Regions from separate parts of the Homo sapiens genome. Here all the other regions are linked to region 1. The links are contacts of gene promoters, found by promoter capture Hi-C in human tissues and cell types (Jung and others, 2019). All regions are on one chromosome and are shown on one strand. The core of a region is centred on a gene start or on the middle of the fragment in contact, and the rest is flanking DNA. Distances in the headings are between cores, read along the strand shown. Region 1 holds the start of DIP2B (disco interacting protein 2 homolog B). Region 2 overlaps SMAGP (small cell adhesion glycoprotein). Region 3 holds the start of CSRNP2 (cysteine and serine rich nuclear protein 2).

Evidence for each region. The method cuts DNA at HindIII sites, captures the fragments that hold promoters and counts their contacts. A contact is called where the count stands out against the background at its distance.
Region 2: a fragment that was not itself captured here is called in contact with the fragment with the promoter of DIP2B in region 1 in 1 of the 25 tissues and cell types used here (hippocampus).
Region 3: the fragment with the promoter of CSRNP2 here is called in contact with the fragment with the promoter of DIP2B in region 1 in 1 of the 25 tissues and cell types used here (lymphoblastoid cells).

What each region holds. Positions count from the first base shown.
Region 1 is chr12:50,503,650-50,506,435 of GRCh38, reverse strand. DIP2B (disco interacting protein 2 homolog B) reads right to left here and starts at 1,451. Exons shown (of 38, transcript NM_173602.3): 1 at 1,196-1,451. The coding sequence starts at 1,295. RefSeq lists a silencer at 1,039-1,148. The HindIII fragment of the contact is 9,488 bases long and covers 1-2,786 here.
Region 2 is chr12:51,244,982-51,247,767 of GRCh38, reverse strand. It overlaps SMAGP (small cell adhesion glycoprotein), which reads left to right. Exons shown (of 4, transcript NM_001031628.2): 3 at 937-1,017; 4 at 1,649-2,786. The coding sequence ends at 1,827. It also overlaps a transcript of DAZAP2 not described here. Among named protein-coding and RNA genes, the nearest start is that of DAZAP2, 7.5 kb to the right of the region's middle. RefSeq lists an enhancer at 1-319. The HindIII fragment of the contact is 4,727 bases long and covers 1-2,786 here.
Region 3 is chr12:51,082,167-51,084,952 of GRCh38, reverse strand. It overlaps CSRNP2 (cysteine and serine rich nuclear protein 2), which reads left to right and starts at 1,357. Exons shown (of 5, transcript NM_030809.3): 1 at 1,357-1,614. RefSeq lists an enhancer at 306-932 and a silencer at 1,306-1,795. The HindIII fragment of the contact is 9,557 bases long and covers 1-2,786 here.

The DNA.
Region 1 (2,786 bases), core at 202-2,701:
TTTCATTGTAAAGGATTCTCAGAGGGGAGGGAACCATAATGCCTTAATAAGTAAACAATAAGTAATGTTTAATAAGCTCCTGGGAGTTGGTCACATTCTTCTTTTCCAATCAAGAGTTTTTGATCCACTTGAAAAATGCTAGTGAAGAGGGCCTTCCACAAGGAACTCAGTAAGAATATGCAACTCTGGAGACACAATCAAAGTACTGGTATCAAGCTTGGAGAAAATGCTGCTTTTGTCTCAGGGGCAGCCAGTGATAAAAACAGGAACTTTACACAGAACTGATCACAACTGCCCCAGAAGCCTGATCACATGCCCACAACGGAGCACTGTGTTTCTCTCATTGTTGTACAAGGAGTTCTCTAATAACAGTGGCTTGATTTATCCCATTTTTTTTTTTTAATTCTGAAAATAAATCGAACCCTCCCTGTCCCAATCCATTGTCAAAAGAAAGAATGCCAGCCAGGATTTGCAAGTAAACGGTAGCCTCCTCTCCTTCCTTCATCAAAGACTCCAAAAGGTGACCAGATGCGGAAAATTCGGCCCGAATAACAGGCACCAGGAAAAAAAAAAACTTCTTATGACAAAGGTGGTCTAAAAGCAGCACCGTGTGTCTCTCTGGGTTAATGCCATTGCTTCTTATCTTCCTAGGACCCTAAATGGCTCACCCGCTTGTGTCTCACTCCTGTCACTGGGGAGGCATCGCGCATTGTTAAAGGAAAGAGAAGAAATGATGCTGCGGATTTCCCATGTGTCTCTTTTTGAAAGGGGGAAGGGGGGGCTGGAACAAGGCGTGGAGCCCTCCACGAAAAGGGGAGAGGAAAGGAGAAAGCTGTCAGCCACCCTCCTCGCAGCCCTACCCCTCACCCCACCTGGGCCAGACGCCTGGGCAGAAGCGGGAGGGCGCAGCTTTGTCTCGGGTTTTGGGGGGCAGGAAGCGCAGAAGCAGTGTGGGCCCGGGAGGACCTTTCCACAAGCCCTTACTTAGTCCCCTCCATGGGAAAACAATGAAAGCCACAGGAAACCACTTAATGGGGTGGGAGAGGAGGGAAAACGGTCGTGGAGCGCCAGGCCAGGTTCTCTACACCCTCGTCCCCCTCGCCGCACGGCCGCCAGAGCGCGCGGCGGGGACCTGTCTCCCAAGTCGCCGCGATCCGCAGGGCCCCGGGCGCCCTCTCCCCGGCCCGGCTCCTACCCTCCGAGAGCTCCAGCTCCAGCTCCGCCAGCTGCGCCCGCACTTCAGGCGGCAGCGCCGCCACCGCGGCCGGCGACGGCTCCAGGCCTCGTTCCGCCATCCCAGCTCCGCCAGCCACACTCCGGAAGACAAGAGAGGGGGCCGAAGGAGGGACGGACAGACACGGGCCCACACCCGGCTACAGGATCCGGCTCCGGCCGCCGAGCACCACCAGCACCGCCGCCGCCGCCGCCGCCGCCATGAGCAAAGGTCACGTGAGCGCGACGGCCCCCGCCCCCCGGCCAGGAGGACGCACCGCCTCTCCAGCCCAGTCAGGCTGAAGACGCATATGCTTACGGCGCCCTCTACTGGGAAGCTACCAGAACGACGGGCCCAAGCCCACCACTCGAATTTCCCTGCGCGAAATGGGCTCATGGTATGGACTGTCGGCTTTACCACAGTAGTGTGGACACATAGCATTTACCTTTCACTCTCGAGCAAGTTTTTAGGGGTCCCAGGCCTTACTTTTTCCAATACTAGACTTAGCAATGTATGTCTATCGTGTCCTTTACTCCATTTTCCCTGATTAATACCTGCCCATTTATAAAAACCTAATCACAGGCCACCTCCTTCGCTGTGGCTCCTGGTCCTATCTGCCAGGAGCTCTGTTTCCGTTTCAGTTTTAGCTTTTAAAAAGACAGGCGCGGTGGCTCTCGCCTGTAATCCTAGCACTTTGGGAGGCTGAGGCTGGTGGATCACCTGAGGTTAAGAGTACCAGGCTAGCCGACCGGGCGCGGTGGCTCACGCCTGTAATCCCAGCACTTTGGGAGGCCGAGACGGGTGGATCACGAAGTCAGGAGATCGAGACCATCCTGGCTGACACGGTGAAACCCCGTCTCTACTAAAAGTACAAAAAATTAGCCGGGCGTGGTGGCGGGCGCCTGTAGTCCCAGCTACTCGGGAGGCTGAGGCAGGAGAATGGCGTGAACCCGGGAGGCGGAGCTTGCAGTGAGCCAAGATCACGCCACTGCACTCCAGCCTGAGCGTGAGCGCGAGACTCCGACTCAAAAAAAAAAAAAAAAGAGTACTAGGCCAGCCTGGCCAACATGGTGAAACCCCGTCTCCAATAAAAATACAAAAATTAGCCGGGCGTGGTGGCGGATGCCTGTACTCCTAGCTACTCAAGAGGCTGAGGCAGGAGAATCACTTGAACCCAGGAGGCAGAGGTTACAGTAAGCTGAGATCGCGTCATTGCACTCCAGCCCGGGCAAGAGAGCAAACACTCCGTCTAAAGAAAAGAAAAAGACAATAGAGAGCAGGTCCACTTCTTTCTTTCTATACTTCTAACTACTTACAAGGAGGGAACTTACTTTAACTCATCCTCCTCACTCTGTGGCCTAATAGGTGTTCCAAAAACATTAATTTTAATTTAATATGAAGAGGGTCCAAGGCTAGGTGCAGTGGCTCACACCTATGATCCCAGCACTTTGGGAGGCCAAGGTGGGCGGATCACCTGAGGTCAAGAGTTCGAGACCAGCCTGGCCAACATGGCGAAACCCCGTCTCTACTAAAAACACAAAAATTAGCCGGGAGTAGTGGCACATGCCTGTAA
Region 2 (2,786 bases), core at 150-2,649, 740 kb before region 1:
AGGAGGCAGTGGGTGAGTGTTGCTGTTTATGGGATGCCAGTCAGGTCGGGGTGCCTCCTGTGGGTGTTGCCAGGATCAGCCAGCTGGTTTTCCCCAGGAGACCTCTATCCTGCAGTAACCTCTACATTAAAATGCTAATAGGAAAGAATGGAAGGGCTTCCTGACTTCCTGTGTAAACACTTAAAAGGGACTTCTGGAGACCACTCATTTTGTCATGTTCTGTCCCTGGGTAATGACTTTAGGGTGGGACTTTCACGCTCTGAAGGATAAATAAACCCGTAGCAGGAGGGGGTGCAGGATCTATTTTAGGGTAGAGGAGAGGCCTGTTTCAGAACCTTTCAAATTGCAGGGCCTATCCTGGAAGTGTAGAAAAGGGTTTTTAATAGGAGAGGAGCACTATTTCATTATGTTAAAATAATGTTTACAAAGAATTAGTAAGAATGCTGCAAGAAAATGCACATGCTATATAATATAATGTAAATATATACACATACAACTCATTTGATCTCACTTATTGTAAAAATATGCATTCCTAATAATGGCTTATCCTACTGAGTGACTTATTAAATGTCACAACAACGTTTTAAAGTAGGTACTCTTACCTCCATTTTGCAGATAGAGGTTAGGTAATTTTCCCAAGGTCACACAGCTAGTAAAGGACAGAGTTCATATTTGAAACCCAGTCTGTCAGGCTCTATAGCCCCTACTCTTAATCACTATATTATGCAGGGAGAAATCCATCAACATATTGTCTTTGGGTGGTGGTTTATTTTCTTCTTTATTCTCTAGGATTTTCTATTTGGATATACTCTAGGAGTTAAATGATAAACTTTTGAATAGGGAAGAAGGTGGGGTGGTGAAATTTGAAGGCCAAACATATGCTTTCAAACAAAAGAATTCACTCCATTTCCTTTTCCACTTTTCTACATTTTCCAGAAGAACTGATGACCACCCCAATTTTACAGCCCACTGAGGCCCTGTCCCCAGAAGATGGAGCCAGCACAGCACTCATTGCAGGTAATAGACTCTGAGCCAACTCCAAGGGACCTTCTGGATCAAGGGCATCTCTCTCCAGAGGGAGCCTGACCAAATCCATTAATGGGCTCACTCTGGCTTGTAAGTTATATTACACACACACACACACACACACACACACACACACAGCCATAAAAGACTCGGAGGCTTCTGTCAGAGGCACTACCAGTAAATGACAGGTTGGGAGGTGGCCGCAAATAGATATGCATACGGACGTTACACTTGAGTACGTGGGTAGGGACGAGGATATATGTGGTTGGTTGAGTGGGTGAGGAAGAGGGGGAGGATCAGATAAACCACTTCCTGTTAGGATAAGCCATTTCCTGTTCCCTCCTTCCCGTTTCTTTAAGAATCAGGAACTGGTTTGGGAGGCAGTTCAGTTTTGTCAGAAATCAAAAGCATGTGTCCTTAGCTTAAGCACCAGGAGACTCCAGCTATTATGTGCCATGGAAATTGGGGTTGGTGGGGGAACATGGGTTTGGATGGAAGTGGACACTAGTTAATGAAAACAAGAGGATCTTTACGAAAACAGTGACTAAATCAGATGACTCCAGGAACTACTGAGACATCCTCAATCCTGAAACATCTCTACATTTTCCCTCTCCTTTCCAAGTTGTTATCACCGTTGTCTTCCTCACCCTGCTCTCGGTCGTGATCTTGATCTTCTTTTACCTGTACAAGAACAAAGGCAGCTACGTCACCTATGAACCTACAGAAGGTGAGCCCAGTGCCATCGTCCAGATGGAGAGTGACTTGGCCAAGGGCAGCGAGAAAGAGGAATATTTCATCTAATGACTCCCAGGCCCCAAGGAGCTTATTCCTGGCTCCATCGCTAACACGTTGACTGCTTATTATGGGAAAGTTTTCTCTGAAGCCAGGGAGAAGCATTGATTGATGTGGGCAAATCCAAGCTCCAGCCAGGTCGCAGTCCCAAATGCCGACATCACTGACTCCAGGGACCAGGGACATGGAGAAAGCTGTTTATGATATCTTTAACCAGGCCCTCTTACTAGAGCTGGTGTTTGTGACTGGCCAACAAGATGTGGCTATGCCAGGGGACATCTGAGTATGTGCCCAGTCATCTTTTTTCACAGGTTGAAGGGAGAGAAAAGATTTTGAGTTAAGGTCATTGGCTGCTCTACTCTGTCCCCTACCTGGTCACCTAGTGATAGCCCCAGTGGAGATACTGTCCATACAAGGTCTTCCCAGAGGCTGGATACCACAGTAAAAGGCCAGGCCAGGAGGGGTAGGAGACTATGGAGATCTTACCTCCTGATAAATGTGCTACACCCCCTAATCTGAGCCCTTCCTTTCCGTGTTCCCCAACAACCTCATGCTTACGTGATTTTTATTCAAATTAAAAATTTTCATTGCTACAGAAATCAGATTCTCATGTGCAAGAAGTAACTACATTTTGACTTATTTTTGCTTAAACATTTTTGACATTTTCTTTTCCCTATTTAACGCCTTTACATATGTTCTCTTCCAAGCAATAAGAACCCTAGGAAAGTTCTAGAAGTTTGCAGAACTATCTCAGGGATTTGAGACAAAGATGGTGCAGGAAAGCTTGTTCCAGGGGAACATCATTAGAAACATACCCTGGGAGGGCCGGGTTCGGTGGCTCACGCCTGTGATCCCAGCACTTTGGGAGGCCGAGGCAGGCGGATCACAAGGTTAGGAGATCGAGACCATCCTGGCTAACACGGTGAAACCCCGTCTCTACTAAAAATATATAAAAAAAATAGCTGGGC
Region 3 (2,786 bases), core at 108-2,607, 580 kb before region 1:
CAGCTCGAGCTTGCCGAGCCTTATAGTTCAAGGGAAAGACAACAAAGAAGAAACCAAGGCTATGTGTCCTTGGCAAATCACATACAACTTTTGACTTCTTAATCTTGGTTTTCCCCTTTTTTTTCTTTTTCTTTTTCTTTTTTTTTTTGAGACGGAGTTTCGCTCTTGTTGACCGTGCTGGAGGGCAATGGTGCAGTCTTGGCTCACTGCAACCTCCGCCTCCCGGGTTCAAGCCATTCTCCTGGGTCGGCCTCCCGAGGAGCTGGGATTAAAGGCACGTGCTACCACCCTCGGCTAATTTTTGTATTTTTAGTAGAGACAGGGTTTCACCATGTTGGTCAGGCTGGTCTCGAACTCCTGACCTCATGACCCGCCCGCCTCGGCCTCCCAAAGTGCTGGGATTACAGGCATGAGCCACCGCGCCTGGCGCCCTTTCTTAAAAATAGGTTGCGGAAGGGCGCGGTGGCTCATGCGTATAATCCCAGCACTTTGGGAGGCCGAGGCGGGCGGATCGCCTGGGCCCAGGAGTGCAAGACCAGCCGGGGCAACATGGCGAAAACCCCTTTTCTATTTAAATAAATAAATTAGTTTGCAAAGTTGAGAAGATTTTTTTTTTTTTTTTTTTGAGACGGAGTCTCGCTCTTTCGCCCAGTCTGCAGTGCAGTGGCGCGATCTCGGCTCACTGCAAGCTCCGCCTCCCGGGTTCACGCCATTCTCCTGCCTCAGCCTCCCGAGTAGCTGGGACTACAGGCGCCCGCCACCACGCCCGGCTAATTTTTGTATTTTTTAGTAGAGACGGGGTTTCACCTTGTTAGCCAGGTTGGTCTCGATCTCCTGACCTCGTGATCCGCCCACCTCGGCCTCCCAAAGTGCTGGGATTACAGGCGTGAGCCACCGCGCCCGGCAGCAATTTTTTTTTTTTTAAAGAAAACACTCAAAGCACTCCCTCATATAAGTAGATAACTCAAGATATTGCTTGTATTCTTTATAACCTGCGCAGGCTGCAATAAGTCATATTGCTGAAGACTAAGACCCCATGAGCGAGGAGAAGGGGGGATCATGTTCCTAATGGCGTGTGGTCAGGACACGAAAGAAAAAGGGAGCTTTGGAGGAGAATTCGTTTATTTAAGATCTGTAGCTGAGTCTCCTCTCTTCCCCCATTAAAAGGTTGCAGCAGAGCTGCCGCCTCGGGAGCCGGTTTGCGCGCCGGCTTCGGCTTTGCAGCAGTTACCGCCTACAACTCCCGGCATGCTGCTGGGTGTGGGCCGGCCCGTAGACTCCATTTCCCAGCCAGCCCCGGGTCTCGGTCAGGACGTGCCGGCGCCTATAAGAGCCAGTGCGCTGCGGCCGGATCCTATTGTTAGCCGGAGCCGGGGCGGTTCTGGGCGTCTGCTGCCGGGGGCGCCCGAGTTGCCGGAGACGCCCGGCCCTCTCTGCCTGCCGGCTGGGCTGCCCACCGCCCTCCCTCCCCGCCCTGCCGCCCTGGGAGCTCCCCGGCCGTCGCCGCGGGGCCCGGGACTCGCTCGCTCCTCCCTCCTTCCCACCGGGCTAGGGCGGCGGCGGCAGCGGGGGCGGCAGAGACCATCACGGGAGGAGGCAGCTGCGGCGGGGCCGGTAATGGGCCTAGGGGTGCGGGGCGGAGGGTGCCGCCTCGTCCTTTCTCGGGATCGGCCCTCGGGCGGCCGTGGAGGAGTGGTCAAGCCCAGAGCCGTGCGGATGGAGGGGTCAGAAATGAGAGGCTCGGACGGGAGCGGTCGGGGGGCGGGGAGGTCGGGTGCCGTTGGGAAGGAACCGAGTCGGGAAGAGGCGTGGGAGCGAGGGGCACCGAGGACGCTGGCCCGGACTGCGGGGGCAGCTCGCGGGAGACCGATGGGCGGCTTGGAAGCCTGCAGGATTGCAGATGAGGATTGAGTTCGGAATGGAGTGGAGAATGATGTAGGATGGAGGAAAGTGAAGGAAGGGGAGGGGGAACAGAGGAAAATGTGGGAGGAGTGGTTGGGAATTTGTGAGTAGCAGGCAGGAAGGGATGCGGAAGGCTGGGTAGGGGCTGCAGAGGATTGGAATGAGCGGGAAGGTTAGCAGGAATCAGAGGGAAGTGGGCCGAGAGCTGAAGGGTTCGGCAGGAGTGTTCATTAAAAGGAACTGGTGACTTGACATGTCCCTTCGCTCCGGTTCCTGATGTCTCCCATATTTCTGGCGTCGTGTGGGAAAATGAAAGCATCAATTGCCCTGGTTGCTAGCTTGATCTTTTTTCATAGGCCCAATTACGCAGCCAACTGCCACCCGTCCCTTTTAGTGCTGTGGTCTTGATTCATCCTTTTAAAGGGGTTGAGAGTGGCAGTGTGACACACAAACTGTTCTTCAGAATGAAATGCTAGAAGTTATCCCCACAAGACAACACTGTCCCCTTGTCCTGCAGTTTTCAGTTCAAGGTAAATTCATAGTTCAGATTTTTTTCTTCACTGGCTTTCTGTCTTGCAAATCCACAAAGCCAGGATGTTGGTTGTGCCGGTGTTATAAATGACTGGATATCCTTGAGAGTTAATGCAGCATCATGTTCCAGTTCCCACAAAGATCTGTCTTCCACACGATGGTAGTTTAGGCATGGAAAATTCTAACCTTGTGTTAGTGAATGGGTAAAAATCGGGGAGTGGGGGTGGTGAGTGCACGGCTTTCTTTAAACACCTAACTTAAGCGGGGGGTTTTCACTTGGGTGCTTTGTAAGTTCATGATCCTGGTGATCACAAAGACACATGGATCCATGAAATTCATGGTATATGAGAAAC